Regions from separate parts of the Homo sapiens genome. Here region 2 is linked to region 1. The links are contacts of gene promoters, found by promoter capture Hi-C in blood cells and fetal thymus (Javierre and others, 2016). All regions are on one chromosome and are shown on one strand. The core of a region is centred on a gene start or on the middle of the fragment in contact, and the rest is flanking DNA. Distances in the headings are between cores, read along the strand shown.

What was found. Contacts are between HindIII fragments. The CHiCAGO score rates a contact against its expected background, and 5 or more counts as called.
Region 2: a contact is called between a fragment that was not itself captured here and the fragment with the promoter of ZNF169 in region 1, in 2 of 17 cell types (fetal thymus and naive CD8 T cells). The highest score is 6.1, in fetal thymus.

What each region holds. Positions count from the first base shown.
Region 1 is chr9:94,257,034-94,261,146 of GRCh38, forward strand. It overlaps ZNF169 (zinc finger protein 169), which reads left to right and starts at 2,265. Exons shown (of 5, transcript NM_194320.4): 1 at 2,265-2,312. It overlaps LINC02603 (long intergenic non-protein coding RNA 2603), which reads right to left and starts at 2,278. Exons shown (of 3, transcript NR_160773.1): 1 at 2,078-2,278. RefSeq lists enhancers at 1,784-2,429, 2,268-2,587, 2,430-3,076, 2,618-2,747, 3,077-3,722. The HindIII fragment of the contact is 11,618 bases long and covers 1-4,113 here.
Region 2 is chr9:96,851,950-96,856,062 of GRCh38, forward strand. It overlaps ZNF782 (zinc finger protein 782), which reads right to left and starts at 2,565. Exons shown (of 6, transcript NM_001001662.3): 1 at 2,139-2,565; 2 at 904-1,120; 3 at 1-56. The coding sequence starts at 12. RefSeq lists silencers at 1,898-1,987, 2,268-2,337. The HindIII fragment of the contact is 2,179 bases long and covers 1,000-3,178 here.

The DNA of each region.
Region 1 (4,113 bases), core at 1,015-3,514:
TTGCCCCACTATTGAGGCAAAACCCTTCCGAGTACATGACTTGATGCCATGTGAATTAGCATTTCCACTCTGTCTCGTGGGAACAGACATTATTCCTGTTCTTTTTGAGCTCACAGTATTGCCCTCTAACCCTTTCTAGTGTTTTTTACCCCTAATTTTGAGGAGTTTCCTCACATGTACATGCTGGTCAGCACTTAACTAATACCTGAGGAAGAGGACTCTCTGCACATCTCTGGCGCTCTCTCTCCCTTTCTGTACTCTGCCCTGTGAACTCTAGATGCATATGCCTCCTCAGATTCCCAGTTCCATCTCCTCAAGTTGAACTCCATGCTTCACTTGAGTTTCCCTTCTCTGTGCTATGACTTGGAAATTCTCTCCATCTGCGGGAAGTTCAAAGGCTCACCTCCATGATTTCCACTGCTCTTCATTGTCTGATGTCAAATGTCTTCAAATGTTTCATATATTTTGTCCTTTTAAATGTTGATTAAGGTGAAGGGCTAAATCTGGTTCCTGTTACTTCATTTTGAGAAGAAGCAAATAGGAAGTAACTTAAAAATACCACTTTTTATCAAATTCTTAGAAAAAGAGTATAACTCATTTTGCAAAGACTTTGGTATGTTTTTGAGCGTATTATTCTGTTACATCTAATAAACAATCTTTGCATTAGTAAGATAACTTTAATTGCTATAGTGTTAAATGTCCTCAAGTTTAGTTTTTCCTTATCTTCTTGTAATCAATTGGAATTAAAAAAAAAACTTCAGAATCTTCTTCTTTATAACAGGAAAAAAAACCCCAGTATTTTTGGCATTTTTAGAAGTACATTCATACACACTGTCATTTAAAACATGGGGGTGGGAGGTGGAGCAAGATGGTGGAATGGAAGGCTCCACTGATCATTCCCCCTTGTAAGAAAAACAAGTTAACAACTATTTACACACAAAAGCACCTTCACAAGAACCAAAAATCAGGTAAGCACTCGCAGTACCTGGTTTTTACTTCATATGACTGAAAGAGGCACTGAAAAGGTAGGAAAGACAGTCTTGAATCACCAATGCCCCTGACCCATCCCCCAGCAGTGGCTCTGTGGTGCGGAGAGAGAATCTATGTTCTTGGGAGACGGCAAGCACAGCAATGATGAGACATTGCATTGAACTCAGTGCTGCCCTGTTATACCAGAAAGCAAAACTGGATCAAACACAGCTGATTCTCACGCATGGAGGGAGTATTTACACCAGCCTTAGCCCGAGGAGAATCACCTATCCCAGCAGTTGGAATTTGAGTTACTGCCAATCTCACCACCTCTGGCTAGAGGGCCCTAAATAAACTCGAAAGGCAGCCTGGGCCACAAGGACGGCTCACGCCTGTAATCCCAGCACTTTGGGAGCCTGAAGTGGGAAAATTGCTTGAGGCCAGGAGTTCCAGACCAGCCTGGTCAACATAGCGAGACCCAGATTCTTTTTTTTTTTTTTCCCCCTTGAGAAGGAATCTCACTCTGTTGTCCAGGCTGGAGTACAGTGGTGCGATCTTGGCTCACTGCAACCTCCACCTCCCGAGTTCAAAGTGATTCTCCTGCCTCACCCTCCTGAGTAGCCGGGACTACAGGCGCCCATCACGACGCCCAGGTAATTTTTGTATTTTTAGTAGAGACGGGATTTTACCACATTGGCCAGGCTGCTCTCGAACTCCTGACCTCTGATCCGCCCGCCTCAGCCTCCCAAAGTGCTGGGATTACAGGCGTGAGCCACCGCGCCCGGCCGCGAGACCCAGATTCTAAAAAACAAAACAAAAAATTAGCCCGGTGTGGTGCTATGCACCTGTATTCCCAGCTACTCAGAAAGTTGAGGTGAGAGGATTGCTTGGCCAGGGGTTTGAGGCTGCAGTGAGCTATGATCACACCATTGTACTGCAGCCTGGCCGACAGAGCAAGACCCCTTCTCAAAAAATAAGTAAGTAGATAAAGTTCAGGGGTGTACAATCACAGGTGTGAATTTGCAGGATGGAGGACATGTAACATCTTTTTAAAAAAAAAAAAAATTAGAAGGACCGTATAAAAAGTTAAAGAAGACTTACTGCTCACCTGACCACCCTTCTCATAGACCCGAAAGTTAGATTTTACTTTCTGATTTTTCACAATTTCTCCTGGATGCTGCGGTCCCGCCCCTCGCAGCATTCTGGATGTTGTAGTCCCTCGCTCCAGGGCATCCACGGTAGGGTAGTTGCGCGCCCCGTGGCAGTCTGGGTAGTGTAGTTCCGTGCCCAGGGGCAGTCCGGCTCGCGTACTTCCGCGTTCCGGCATCGTCGCCTGGTGCGTGGTGAGTGTCCTTTCACAGTTCTGGTGAGCTAGCCCGGAGGTGGTCCCCGCTTTCGCGGGCCTTCCACTGGAAGGAAGGTCGGGAAAGCTGGCATGGGCAGTCCATGTCGTGGCCACATGTTCCTTGGTGTTTTGAGTTTCGGCTGTGGGGTCTGGGCGTGCGTGGTCCACCCCGGAGAGAGGTCTTGGCGGAGGTCCTCTGGTGGGGAGGGGGCGTTGGCGTTGTCGCGTGCTTCTGGCGGGACTTTGGGCCCAGTATGTTGACCTGGAGGGGCCAGTGCAGGCCTGGGACCGACTTCCCGAGCTACTTCGCAGGTGCGTCCCCGGTACTTCGGGGGCCGCTGAGTGGGCTCTGCCTGGGGTACCCAGACAGCATCCTGCCACTAGTATCCCGCCATCCCCTCCCCACCATCGCGCCTCGGAGGTCTCTGGGCCAGCAAATGTGCCTTTGGAGGACATGATATCCTCGGTTGGAGCAAACTTCCCCATTAGTGGGAGGCACGCGGCTTGGGCATCAGTCGGGTTGTTTATTTGTTTATTTATTAAATTTTATTTATTTATTTATTTATTTTTGAAACAGAGTCTCTCTCTGTCGCCCAGGCTGGAGTGCAGTGGCGCAATCTCGGTTCACTGCAATCTCCGCGCCCCACCCCAGCCGCCGGGTTCAAGCCATGCTCCCGCGTCAGCCTCCCGAGCAGCTGGGATTACAGGCACCCGCCACCACGCCCGGCTAATTTTTTGGTTTTTGTTTTGTTTTGTTTTTTTGAGACAGAGTTTCGCTCTTGTCGCCCAGGCTGGAGTGCAGTGGCGTGATTCCCCTGCCTCAGGCTCCCGAGTAGCTGGGACTACAGGCGCACGCCACCACGCCCGGCTAATATTTTGTGTTTTAGTAGAGACGGGGTTTCACCATGTTGGCAAGGCTGGTCTCGAACTCCTGACCTCAAGTAATCCCCCCGCCTCGGCCTCCCAAAGTACTGGGATTACAGGCGTGAGCCACCGTGCCCAACCTCAGTCCAGTTATTAGGGCTCTTGTGGATGGCTGGTGCACTGTGGTGGTGATGGTGCAGCTTGGCCACTAGGACCCGGGTTTGTGGGGGAGGATTGTTTGTGGGTAGACATCCAGACTTGGTCTTGATAGTGGGGGGGGGGACGGCTAGGGCCGTGCGACTCGGGTCAGTAGCCTTGGGGCCTGGGGACCCAAGTTGGTGAGTTGAGAAGGGCTTGCCTGGAGTTAGACATCCCTGGGTTGTGGGTTGCATGGGGGCGTGCTTGTATCCAGATTGTCGGCTTCTGCAGCTGTGTGGCTCCCTCGGACTTGGGGACCCTTCCGGGAGCATGGGTTGCAACAAGCAGAATGGTGCCCATAGGGCCAAGGAACATTTTTCTCAAGCCTCAGGGGGCTGTTGAGTGACTCCTTGAATTCCTGGAGGTGGGGGAAGAAGTTGGGTGGAAGGCATCCAAACCTACATTTTTTTTTTTTTTTTTTTTTTTTTTGAGATGAAGTCTCACTCTGTCGCCCAGGCTGGAGTGCAGTGGAGTGATCTCAGCTCACTGCAACCACGGCCTCCCGGGTTCAAGCAATTCTCTGCCTCAGGCTCCTGAGTAGCTGGTACCACAGGCGCCCGCCACCACGCCCGGCTAATTTTTTTTGTATTTTTAGTAGAGACGGGGTTTGTTTTTTGTTTGTTTGTTTGTTTGTTTGTTTTGAGAGGGAGTCTTGCTCTGTCGCCAGGCTGGAGTGCAGTGGGGTGGCGCGGCGCGATCTCGGCTCACTGCAAACTCCGCCTCCCGGGTTCAAGGTA
Region 2 (4,113 bases), core at 839-3,338, 2.6 Mb after region 1:
AAATGTGTTCATTTTCTGTGGCTCTTGGGAGAGTATAGAGAACTGTAAAGCCTCAGCTGGGGGGACAGAAAGAGGATGTCACACGGTCTCGCCTACCTCACAGCTCCTAGATTAGCCTCCCCAAATCTCAGCAACCCAGTTGGAGAGCAGCCTTCCTAAGGTAACAGGGCCCTTCAGGCCTTGAAAAGGCATGAGAAGCACCACGTAGAGGTGGCACTGTCTACGACAACTCTGAAATAATTATGGGGCTTAAACTGCTGTTTTTTATTGAGTGAACATAAACTTTTCCCAATTGATTTAACAATGCACATGTGCTTCTAACACACACACAAAAATAAAGACAATACAGGATTAGTTGAATTAAAGTACACCACAGGGTAAGACACTATTCTTTCATTAAAATTAACCTAGCAGGTACTGTGGTTCAAGCCTGTAACCCCAGCACTTCGGGAGGCCAAAGAGGGAGGACAGCTTGAGCTCAGGAGTTCAAGACCAACCTGGGCAACATGGCATGACCTTGTCTCTACAGAAAATAAAAACTTAAAAAATTAGCCAGGTGTGGTGGCATGCGCCTGTGGTCCCTGCTACTTGGGAGGCTGAGGCAGGAGGATCACTTGAGCCCAGGAGGTAGAGGCTGCAGTGAGCCATGTTTGTGCCACTGCACTCCTGCCTGGACAACAGGATGAGACTCTGTCTCCAAAACACAAAATTAACTTAGCAGAAAAATATTCAGTGTGCATCATTTAACTATTTTTCTTAGTAATATTATTTACCCTTGGTATAGACAATCCACAGAAAGTCTTATAAAAGAGATGAGATACTTTAAGGCAAAGAGTTTTAGATGTTTTAACTGGGATGTATTTCTCAAAAGGCCCTTTGGATAAGATGCTTTTGGTGACTCACCTGTGAAAGAATGAACGGAACTGTTTTCCTCCTGGCTCTACCACAAACGAGGGATCCCCGGAAACTCACTGAACCTTTCATGCCCAATGTCTTTAAAGCTTTCAAAAGAATCAGAAGTAGATAGCCACGGAAAACCCTTCATGTATCATCATGCATGGGATTCTATGAGGTAGGGACAAAGTCTCCAGTGTCACATATGTTAACAGCAGTATGGCATCTGTAAAGAGTGGAGAACAAAGCGACTGGGGGCTACTTTGGGATCTGGGGACAGAATCTCCGGTTACCCCTACCCTCAGACCTATGCAATGATGTGGCCTTTCCTGAGCAGCCTGTCCCTGGCCACCACCTAGCCCATTTTGCTCTTCTCAAAGCTGGCCCAAACCACCCACTGTCACCCATTGTGTGGTGGCTTCTGGAGGCTTCACCAAGTCTGGCTCATTCTGGGAAGGAGGATCAAGAACTGCTTCTGACCATACACATCTAGGATCTGCTCCTCTGTGGGCTCTTCTGCCTCTGCTCTGAAGCTCGGGAGGGAGGCCTAGGTCTGAGAGGTGTTCTCTTCCAGGTAAAACTGTTCACAGAGACCCCTGCTTCCCACCTCGCAAGGGCTGCTCTGTTCAAGGAGCCTGCGACCTGACCTGAGAAACCATGTTAGTGGCAAAAATCTGACTCTTAGAATTCTTTACATCAGACTTAAAAGAGAGACACCCTGACAATGCAGAAGGGGCCAGGAACCTGTCTGACCCAAGAGATCTGAAGACACACCAGAAATCCAGACTACATTTGACACATGGTAAGATTCCATCTACATCCACTCCCTGAGTATTTGGGGACATGACATTCTGCTAAGTGCTGTGAAGGCTGCAATGCTGGTTTTAGGCAGGTGTGATATTAGCGCCTGAAACGGGAAATAAATCACACCTGCCTTTGAACCCCAGCTCCCTCACTGCTAGCTTGTGACCTGAGCCTCAGTTATATTTAATGCAGATGTGGTTGTGAGGTATACATAGGCACCCAACGAATGGAACAAAGTGTCTTCTAAATATAACAGCAGCAGTCCGCTCATGGCTTAGTAGCCTACAGTCGGCTGTTTGCTTTACAGGTGGTGACTTAAAGTTTTAAACCAACGCCATGAAGCAGTCATTATTAATACCCTCACTTTCAGATGAGAAACCTGACTCTCATCCACGTCCCTACATTCGCCTCGGCTTCCAGTTGACAGAGATGGAACTTACCCGGGTTTTTCCAGCTCCAGAGCTCGGGGTCTCGATGCAGACCCACCGTCCGGGGATTTCGGGCACGTTGTCGCCCGCGTTACAAATGCGCTTTCCCCACCCCCGCCGCCGCTCGCGCCGGGCTCCGGTCCCGCACACCGCGGCCCGCACCCGGCACCTGCTCCGGACCAACGCTCAGCCTCAGCCGCCCCGGGAGCCAGCGGCCGAAGTCCCTCTCCAGCGGCCGGGAAGGCCGAGGGCCCGCCCGGTCGCATCCACTGACACAGGGGGCGGGGATCCCACAAACTTCCCGCTTCCTCTCCCGCTTCCGGGCACAAACGCTGTCCTCCCGCCCCAGCTGCGCCCCCTCTACTTTCCGAGCCGACCCCCGAGCTTCCCAAACCGCTTCCCGGGAGTCTCGAGAACCCAAATGAGGAGGCGGGGCTCTGGCTGCACAGGCGCAGAAGGAGCCCAGGAGCCCCATCCCAGAGTGCTGCGCGGCGAACCAGACTCATTCAGGACTACATTTCCCATAAGCTCTTGCGTCCGCCTTCGACGTGACTCCTCACGTTTCGGCGATTCAGAATTGGCGGGGATGGAGTTTTTATGAAGTCTCCCGCTCAGGCTCTCCAAGAACAGGGAGAAGTTAAAGGTTAAAACTTAAACGCTACTGACAAATACAAAGAGTAGCCCTCCATTGGTTCCCGGTTGAACCAACATTTTTTTTTTCCGTAAGACTTTCGGAGACAATTGGGAAGCTGAATATGGATTGGGAATTGCAAATATTGAAAAAAAGTACCATTACTTTTGTGAACTGTGAAAAAAAATTAAGAATTTTGTAGAAATTTTTTTTTTAAAAAAAGGGATCACTACTGAAGTATTTAGCATTGAAATGATATAACTTTGAATTTACTTTACAATTTTATACATTTTCAACCTGGAACCTCCACCTTGTCTCTTTACAGCCTACCCGACCCATTGACCTGTGAGCCCTGTCCTGGCGCCCCCAGGCGTGAGGGTTCTAAGGCGGGTCGAGCCCGGTGCTGCAGGTGTTAGAGAAAAGCTTTTGGTTTTTATCCCTTAACATTGCTTCTTGCCGAATTCTCTTATTGATTCAACATATTTAAATTTAATGTTAATTATCTTAGGTTTCCATGCGCATTAACGAATTTTCTTGCTTTTTGCTGATTGTTTTTTATTTCCGTAGGTTATTGGGGAACAGATGGTGTTTGGTTACATGAGTAAGTTCTTTAGTGGCGATTTGTGAGATTTTGGTGCACCCATCACCTGAGCAGTATACACTGCACCCCATTTGTAGTCTTTTATCCCTTGCCCCGCTGCCCTCCGCCATTCCCCGCCAAGTCCCCAAAGCCCATTGTGTTATTCTTATGCCTTTGCATTCTCATAGCTTAGCTCCCACTTATGAGTGAGAACTACGATGTTTGGTTTTTCCACTCCTGAGTTACTTCACTTAGAATAATAGTCTCCAATCTCATTCAGGTCGCTGCAAATGCCATTAATTCATTCCTTTTTATGGCTAAGTAGTATATCATCAGATACATACCACAGTTTCTTTATCCAGTTGTTGATTGATGGGTATTTGGGTTGGTTCCACGTTTTTGCAATCGCAAATTGTGCTGCTATAACCATGCATGTGCAAGTATCTTTTTCATATAATGACTTCTTTTCCTCTGGGTAGATACCCAGTAGTGGGATTGCTGGATCCAATGGTAGTTCTACTTTTAGTTCTTTAAAGAATCTCCACACTGTTTTCCATTGTGGTTGTACTAGTTTACATTCCCACCGGCAGTGTAGAAGTTTTCCCTGTTCACTGCAGCCATGCCAGCATCAACTATTTTTTGATTTTTTGATTATGGCCATTCTTGCAGGAGTAAGGTGGTTTTGATTTGGATTTCTCTTATCATTAGTGATGTTGAGCATTTTTTCATATGTTTGTTGGCCATTTGTATATCTTTTTTGAGAATTGTCTATTCAT